Linked DNA regions of Homo sapiens: region 2 is linked to region 1. The links are contacts of gene promoters, found by promoter capture Hi-C in blood cells and fetal thymus (Javierre and others, 2016). All regions are on one chromosome and are shown on one strand. The core of a region is centred on a gene start or on the middle of the fragment in contact, and the rest is flanking DNA. Distances in the headings are between cores, read along the strand shown.

Region 1 (4,377 bases), core at 1,220-3,719:
CTCAGCTCACTGCAACCTCTGCCCTCGGAGTTCAAGCGATTCTCCTGCCTCAGCCTCCCGAGTAGCTGGGATTACAGGCGCCTGCCACTGCACCCAGCTAATTTTTTGTATTTTTAGTAGAGACGGGGTTTCACCTTCTTGGCCAGGCTGAGTCTTGAACTCCTGACCTCGTAATCCACCCGCCTCGGACTCCCAAAGTGCTGGGATTACAGGCGTGAGCCACCGGGCCCGGCTCTGGTTTTTTTTTTTTTTTTTTTTTTTTTTTTTTTTTTTTTTTTTTTGAGATGGAGTCATGCTCTGTCGCCCAGGCGCAATGCTGTGATCTCGGCTCACTGCAACCTCCTCCTCCTGGGTTCAAGCAGTTCTCCTGCCTCAGCCTTCTTAGTAGCTAGGATTACAGGCATGCGCCACCACACCTGGCTAATTTTTGTAATTTTAGTAGAGACGGTGTTTCACCATGTTGGGCAGGCTGGTCTCCTACTCCTGACCTCATGATCCGCCTGCCTGGGCCTCCCAGAGTGCTGGGATTACAGGCTGAGCCACCGTGCCCGGCTGCATATTATTAAGATACATGACTTCGTAAAAGGAGAAAGGAAATGTAATAGGACTTAATAATCACATAGTATCAAATAAGATAATCTTCAGTAAAAATAGGAATGACATGTTTCTGTCCCATGATACAGTTCGATATACTTACTTTTTCAGTTTTTTCTCCAATATTAATTCTTTCCCATACAAGGTCCAAGCTTCTGCTCTTGGAGTCTGGGACTGGACCCCTTTCTGGTAGCAATACCTTTATAGAATGTTTACTCCAGGCCGGGCACGGTGGCTCATGCCTGTAATCCCAGCACTTTGGGAGGCCAAGGCGGGCAGATCACGAGTTCAGGAGATCGAGACCATCCTGGCTAACACGGTGAAACCCCGTCTCTACTAAAAATACAAAAAAAAAAAAAAAAAAAAAAAATTGGCCGGGCATGGTGGCACATGCCTGTAGTTCCAGCTACTCGGACTCGGGAGGCTGAGGCAAGAGAATCTCTTGAACCTGGGAGGCAGAGGTTGCAATGAGCTGAGATCGTGCCACTGCACTCCAGCCTGGGCGACAGAGCCAGACTCCGTCTCAAAAAAAAAGAAAAAAAAAGTGGTTTACTCCAGTTTTTCCCTGCATTTAATAATTTTGTTCCCTTTAAGGCATGTTTTTATTTTCTTGGCTGAAAAGGAGTAGCCTGAGAAGAAGTAACGTGTAGGAAGCCTTGGCCATGGGACCAATAGCCTCATAAATTCCTGATCTCTGGAGGACATCAGGGCCTCCTACCTGTTCCATTGTGACCTGGGAGTCTCTCCAGCTCCAAGGTGGAGGGATGGCTTCACTGAACACGGAGTCTGGAATTCCGTGCACACTCATGTGACCGGTGTTCCGGAAAAAGAAGCAGGAGGCGGCTGGGCGCGGTGGCTCACGCCTGTAATCCCAGCACTTTGAGAGGCCGAGGCCGGCGGATCACGAGATCAGGAGTTCGAGACCAGCCTGGCCAACATGGTGAAACCCCATTTCTACTAAAAATACAAAAATTAGCCGGGAGTGGTGGTGGGCGCCTGTAATCGCAGCTACCCGGGAGGCTGAGGCAGGAGAATCGCTTGAAACCGGAAAGCGGAGGTTGCAGTTAGCTGAGATCGTGCCATTGCATTCCAGCCTGGGCAACAAGAGCGAAACTCCGTCTCAAAAAAAAAAAAAAAAAGCAGCAGGAAGGACCCACTGAGTACAGGAAGCCGACAGGGCCTGCTCCGGAAAACCAGGAGCTGTAAGGTCAGCCGAAAGGACGAAGAGACCTGAAGTCAGTCAAGTAAGTTTTATTAACCTGCTGGGCTGCTCCCCCACAGTTAGAGGAGGCAGCCCCGCTTACAGACTACAGCAGGGCTTTATAGGGCGAGGAACTGGGCTGGGGTGTGAGAACTGAGTCGGGGGTGCAGGTGTCCTGACCGCATCCTGGAGATGTTTTTGCCAGCTTTGTTATGCAAGGTGGGCAGGTGTTGTGACCGCATCCTGGAACTGTCTGCCGGTTCAGCTGAAGTCTTTTGAACAAACAGTTACTGGAAGGGTCAGTGGGGAGGAGGTCTACTTCTAGCCCGGGGGGAGTTGTGTGGCGGTCACAAAGGACTGTATTGTAAGACTGATGGGGGAAGGAGGGGAACAGTCTGGTTGGGTTGACCCTAACGGGAGCAAGTTCTGCTTCCATGCAAGTCCAGGTCCAAGGTCCCAGCGAGGGGCTGTGGGTAGCACCTGTCAGTCACACCCCACACAGCGAGCGGATTATTTGAGGATTCCGATCACCTCTCCTGTCGCTCAAGCCCCAGGGGCGGGACCTGGGGCACCAGCCAGTCAGAGGCGCTGTGCGGCAAACTGTCCAATCAGGTGCGCCGGGAGGAGGGGCAACTTCCAAAGCCCGAAGCGGTCTCATTTCCCGCCGGCCCCCCATTCGGGTCCGGGTTTTAGTTCCTCGGGGAGCCCCTGGTGCCCCGGATACGGCTGATTTTGTCGTGTGGGACCTGTTCTGGCTGCTCCAGCCCCAGGAAGGACCCAGGACACCCGGAAGCCGGAAATGGTGAGCGTGCGGAGCCGGGCGTCCGGAGACCTGAGGAGGAGCTGGTCGGAACCGGCAGTGGCTGGACCTGGGCCTCCCCGCGGCGACTGTGGGGGTCTGGGACCCGAGTCCCCCAGGCGCAGCTCGACCCTTGGTCCCCTCGGTCGCCGGGTGGAGCTGGACCAGCCGCCGGGACCCCGGGTGTCCTGTCCCGGCCCCGGAGCCCTCTCAGGGCAGCTCCGCGCCCGCAGCCCCGCGTCTCCCCAGATCGTGCGGGGGCCTCAGGAGGGTCTTAGGGGGAATCCCGCCTCGGGTGTGGGGTTCGTGCGGGAGGAGCCGTGGCCTGTGGGGTCCCCAGTTCCTCCTCCCTTAGGCGGTCCCCGTTTCCTTCGGAGTCTTCCAAAGGTGTGGGAAGCTGGGTTTCAAACCCACGACCCCGTCCCCCAGCTTCGCTCCTCCCAGGGCTGCAGTAAATCCCTAAATTTCCCCGCATTCCCCAACCCTAAGTTCTCCCTCCAGTACATCCACTTCACATTATTATTATTATCATTATTTCTATTATTTTTGAGACGGAGTCTCACTCTGTCGCCCAGGCTGGAGTGCAGTGGCACTGTCTGGGCTCACTGCAGCCTCCGTCTTCCGGGTTCAAGTGATTCTCCTGCCTCAGCCTCCTGAGTAGCTGGAATTACAGGTGCCCGCCACCACGTCCGGCTAACTTGTATTTTCAGTAGAGACAGGTTCACCATGTTGGCCGTGCTGAAGTCCTGATCTCAGGTATCTGCCTGCCTCGGTCTCCCAAAGTGCTGGGATTACAGGCTTGAGCCACTGCGCCTGGCAAGACCCAGTGTTTTAACTGTCATCTTTTCCAAGGAGCCCTAGATGGCACTTCTTAAAAAGTTCATTTTCCGTTTGTGAACATTTCACATGCGAGCAAAGCAGAAAATAACCCCCTGACACTCCGATGTTAAAAAAAAAAAATCACTGTGCCTGCCCTCTTTTTACCTTCCCTAGGCGCGGCCACCTTATCAGACAGTCTTTGGGTGGAGGCTTCTCTTGGGAACTTCACAGGGTATTGGGTCCTCAGCCCACCCTCCTATCTTTCTGGTCCTGGGTTTCAGGACCGTCCAGGGACTTCTTCCAGCTGCCCTCGGAAGAACGGGTGAAAAGTCTGTCCTGGCGTGGTTAATCTTTCCTGGTTGTTTGATGAGCCTCCTAGGGAGGAGTTCTTGTCTTTTGAAAAGAAGTTTCCTTAGGAAATTCCAGAGGGATTCCCTGCTGGCCCTTGGGGGTGGGGTGGGGCCAGAAACAGTAGAAAGAAACTTCTCCCTTCTGAGGCAGCTCAGGGTGGCATGCAGTGGCACAGTCATGGCTTACTACGGCCTCAACCTCTGGGGCCCAAGCAATCCTCCTGCCTCAGTCTTCCAAGAAGCTGGGACCACAGGCATGCGCCACGCCCGGCTAGTTTTTATTTTTTGTAGAGACAAGGTCTCACTATGTTGCCCAGTCTGCTCTGGAAGTCAAAAGCGATTCTCCTGCCCAGGTGGCTCACGCCTGTAATTCCAGCACTTTGGGAGGCTGGGGCGGGAAGATCTCTTGAGCCCAGAAGTTTGAGACCATCCTGGGCAAAGTGGCGAGACCCCATTTCTACAACAAATACAAAAATTAGCCGGGTATGGTGGCGCATGCCTGTAGTCTCAGCTACTCAGGAGACTGAGGTGGGAGAGCCACCTGAACCCGGGGAGGTTGAGACTGCCGTTAGCTGTGATTGCGCCACTGCACTGAACGACAGAGTGAGACCCTG
Region 2 (4,453 bases), core at 595-3,094, 100 kb after region 1:
TCCTGACTGCGAGTGGTCTGCCACCCTCGGCCTCCCGAGGTGCCGGGATTGCAGACGGGGTCTCGCTCACTCAGTGCTCAATGTTGCCCAGGCTGGAGTGCAGTGGCGTGATCTCGGATCGCTACAACCTCCACCTCCCAACTGCCTGCCTTGGCCTCCCAAAGTGCCGAGATTGCAGCCTCTGCCCGGCCGCCACCCCGTCTAGGAAGTGAGGAGCGTCTCTGCCTGGCCGCCCATCGTCTGGGATGTGAGGAGCCCCTCTGCCCGGCCGCCCAGTCTGGGAAGTGAGGAGTGCCTCTTCCCGGCCATCATCCCGTCTAGGAAGTGAGGAGCGTCTCTGTCTGGCCGCCCATCATCTGGGATGTGGGGAGCACCTCTGCCCTGCCGCCCCATCTGAGATGTGAAGAGTGCCTCTGCCCGGCCGCGACCCCGTCTGGGAACTGAGGAGTGTCTCTGCCCCGCCGCCACCCCATCTGGGAGGTGAGGAGCGTCCCTGCCCGGCCGCCCCGTCTGAGAAGTGAGGAGCCCCTCCGCCCGGCAGCCGCCCCATCTGGGAAGTGGGGGGCAGCTCCCGTCCGGCCAGCCGCCCCGTCCGGGAGGTGTACCCAACAGCTCATTGAGAACGGGCCATGATGACAATGGCGGTTTTGTCGAATAGAAAAGGGGGAAATGTGGGGAAAAGAAAGAGAGATCAGATTGTTATTGTGTTTGTGTAGAAAGAAGTAGACATAGGAGACTCCATTTTGTTCTGTACTAGGAAAAATTCTTCTGCCTTGGGATGCTGTTAATCTATAACCTTACCCCCAACCCCGTGCTCTCTGAAACAGGTGCTGTGTCCACTAAGGGTTAAATGGATTAAGGGCGGTGCAAGTTGTGCTTTGTTAAACAGATGCTTGAAGGCAGCATGCTCTAAGAATCATCACCACTCCCTAATCTCAACTACCCAGGGACACAAACACTGTGGAAGGCGGCAGGGCCCTCTGCCTAGGAAAACCAGAGACCTTTGTTCACTTGTTTATCTGCTGACCTTCCCTCCACTATTGTCCTATGACCCTGCCAAATCCCCCTCTCCGAGAAACACTCAAGAATGATCAATAAATACTAAAAAAAAAAAAAAAAAAAAAAAAAAAAAGCAGAATAAAATCAGAAAAAAAAAGGTAAATTTAAAGTATAAGAAGCTGGGCAAGGCGTGGTGGCTCACTCACGCCTGTAATCCCAGCACTTTGGGAGGCTGGGGTGGGCGAATCACTTGAGGTCAGGAGTTCAAGACCAGCCTGGCCAACATAGTGAAACCCTGGCTCTACTAAAAATACAAAAATTAGCCAGGTGTGGTGGCTGGTGCCTATAATCCCAGCTACTTGGGAGGCTGAGGCAGGAGAATCGCTTGAACTGGGGAGGCAGAAGTTGCAGTGAGCCGAGATCACGCCACTGTACTCCAGCCTGGGCAACAGAGTGAGACTCCATATCAAAAATAAATTTAAAATAAATAAATAAAGTATAAGAAGCTGGAAAAAGATACAAGTAATCAAGGAAAGCATGAGTAGTTACAATAATATCGGATAAAGTAGATTTCAGAGAAAAAAATTGAGACATGGAGAGAAATTACATAATGATAAAAAGCTTAATCCACCCAGAAGACCCAGCAGTCCTAAATGTGTAGGCATAAATCAACAGACATGAAAAATGTGAAACAAAAACTGGAACAAACAGAGGAGAAACAGACAATAAGACAAATACACAATTATCGTTGGAGATATTGACATTTTTCTCTAAACAATAGAACAGAGAAAATTTCAGCAGCAAATCTAAAAAAAAGACAACAGTTCAACACCATCATTCATCAACAGGATCTGGTTGACATTTGTAGAGTAATTTAATCAACAGCAGCAGCATATGCATTCTCTTCAAGGGCTCATGGAACATAAAGTAAGATAGACCATCTCCTAGGCCATGAAACAAACTTCAACAAATTTTAAAAATCAGATTACACGGAGTGTGTTCTCGGATCATAATGGAGTCAGACTAGAAATCAATAATGTGAAGACAATGCAAACATCTCCAACTCTTGCAAGCTTGAAGGGGAAGTCCCTGGGAAAACAAAAAATACATTGACCACAAAGATGATGAAAAGACAATGGATCAAAATTTGTAAGACACAACTAAAGCAGTGTACTGAAGAAACTGATGGCACTAAACTCATATATTAGAAAAGGCTGGTCGGGCGCGGTGGTTCAAGCCTGTAATCCCAGCACTTTGGGAGGCCGAGGCCAGGAGATCCAGACTATCCTGGCTAACACGGTGAAACCCGGTCTCTACTAAAAATACAAAAAAAAAAAAAAAAAAAAAAAAAAAATTAGCCGGGCGTGGCAGCAGGTGCCTGTAGTCCCAGGCTGAGGCAGGAGAATGGCATGAACCCAGGAGGCGGAGCTTGCAGTAAGCCGAGATGGCGCCACTGCACCCCAGCCTGGGCGACAGAGCAAGACTGTCTCAAAAAAAAAGAAGAAAAAAAAGAAAAAAACTAAGTCTCCAGATAATCTAATTTTCCACATCGATAACCTGGGAAAAGGTCAAACTTAATAAACTAAACCCAAACAAAAGAAGTATTAAGAAAGAAATAATAAAGATAGGAAGAGAAATAAAGTTGAGACTCAGAAAGTAATAGAGAAAAACCAATAAAACAGACAGCTGATTTTTTTTGAAAAGATCAATTAAATAGACAAACCTCAAGCAAGACTAAGTGGGGGAAAGGACAAGACACAAATTACCCTGTCAGGAATGAAACAAGGGATATCGGCCAGGCGCGGTGGCTCACGCCTGTAATCCTAGTACTTTGGGAGGCTGAGTCAGGTGGATCACAAGGTCAGGAGTTCGAGACCAGCCTGGCCAATATGGTGAAACCCTGTCTCTACTAAAAATACAAAAAATAAAAATTAGCTGGGCGTGGTGGTGGGTGCCTGTAGTCCCAGCTACTCGGGAGGCTGACGCAGGAGAATTGCTTGAACCCAGGAGGTGGAGATTACAGTGAGCCAAGGTCGGGCCACTGCACTCCAGTCTGGCTACAAAGCGAGACTCCATCTCAAAAAAAAAAAAAAAAAAAAAGAAACAAAGGATATCATTACATACCCTGCAGACATAAAAAGAATAATAAAGTGTATTAGTCGTCTAGGGCTGCCATAAGAAAATACCAGAGTCTGGGTGAGTTAAAATAAATCATCTCACAGTTCTGGAGGCTGGAAGTCTAAGATCAAGGTCCCAGGACAGCTGGTTTCTCCTGAGCCCTCTGCGTATGGCGCCACCTTCCTCTGTATCCTCACATGGCCCTTTTCTTTTTTTCTTTTCTTTTCTTTTTTTTTTGAGATGGAGTCTCACTCTGTCACCGAGGCTGGAGTGCAGTGGCACGATCTCGGCTCACTGCGACCTCCGCCCCCCAAGTTCAAGCGATTCTCCTGCCTCAGCCTCCTGAGTAATTGGGATTACAGGCGCCTGCCACCGCGCCCGGCTAATTTTTTTGTATTTTTAGTAGAGACGGGGTTTCACCATCTTGGCCAGGCTGGTCTTAAACTCCTGACCTCGTGATCCACCCGCCTCAGCCTCCCAAAGTGCTGGGATTACAGCCGTGAGCCACCGCACCCGGCAGGGCTTTTTCTTCTAATTGGCCCGTTCTAGTGTTTCTCTGTCCCTTCTCCTTTATTTTATTTATTTATTCATTTATTTATTTATTGAGACAGAGTCTCGCTCTATCTCCCAGGCTGGAGTGCAGTGGCACAATCTCGGCTCACTGCAACCTCCGCCTCCTGGGTTCAAGTGATTCTCTTGCCTTAGTGACCTGAATACAGGTGTGGGATTACAGGTGTGCGCCACCATGCCCAGCTAATGTTTTATTTTTAGTAGAGCCAGGGTTTTGCCATGTTGGCCAGGCTGGTCTCAAACTCCTGGCCTCAAGTGATCCGCCTGCCTTGGCCTCCCAAAGTGCTGCAATTACAGGCGTGAGCCACAGTGCCTGGCCTCTATCTCTTCTTATCATGATGATAGTCATACTGGATTATGGCCTCACTCTGATGACCTCATTTAACCTCAATTACCTCTTAAAAATCTCCCTCTCCATACCCAGTCCCAATGAGGGTTGGGACTTCAATATGAATAACTCTATACACATAAAATTTAACAGCTTAGATGAAATGATTTAATCACTCAAAACATAAATTATTATAATTACCCAATTAAAAAACTGATATTTTTGAATTGCCCTACACTAGGAAGAAACTGAAATCATAATTTTATTTTTTATTTATTTATTTATTTATTTTTTTTGAGATGAAGTCTCGCTCTTGTACCCCAGGCTGGAGTGCAATGGTGTGATCTCGGCTCACTGCAACCTTTGGAATAATGTTCATGAGCCCAAAGACAAGACAACCTTTGGAATAATGTCCATGAGCCCAAAGACAAAATTCCC

The links. The method cuts DNA at HindIII sites, captures the fragments that hold promoters and counts their contacts. A CHiCAGO score of 5 or more calls a contact.
Region 2: a fragment that was not itself captured here is called in contact with the fragment with the promoter of ZNF101 in region 1 in 1 of 17 cell types (neutrophils); the score reaches 5.2 in neutrophils.

The regions. Positions count from the first base shown.
Region 1 is chr19:19,666,370-19,670,746 of GRCh38, forward strand. It overlaps ZNF101 (zinc finger protein 101), which reads left to right and starts at 2,470. Exons shown (of 4, transcript NM_033204.4): 1 at 2,470-2,597. The coding sequence starts at 2,595. RefSeq lists enhancers at 2,159-2,725, 2,726-3,291 and a silencer at 2,680-2,879. The HindIII fragment of the contact is 10,038 bases long and covers 745-4,377 here.
Region 2 is chr19:19,769,718-19,774,170 of GRCh38, forward strand. The region is part of intron 1 of LINC00663 (long intergenic non-protein coding RNA 663); the gene reads right to left. Among named protein-coding and RNA genes, the nearest start is that of LINC00663, 4.5 kb to the right of the region's middle. The HindIII fragment of the contact is 452 bases long and covers 1,619-2,070 here.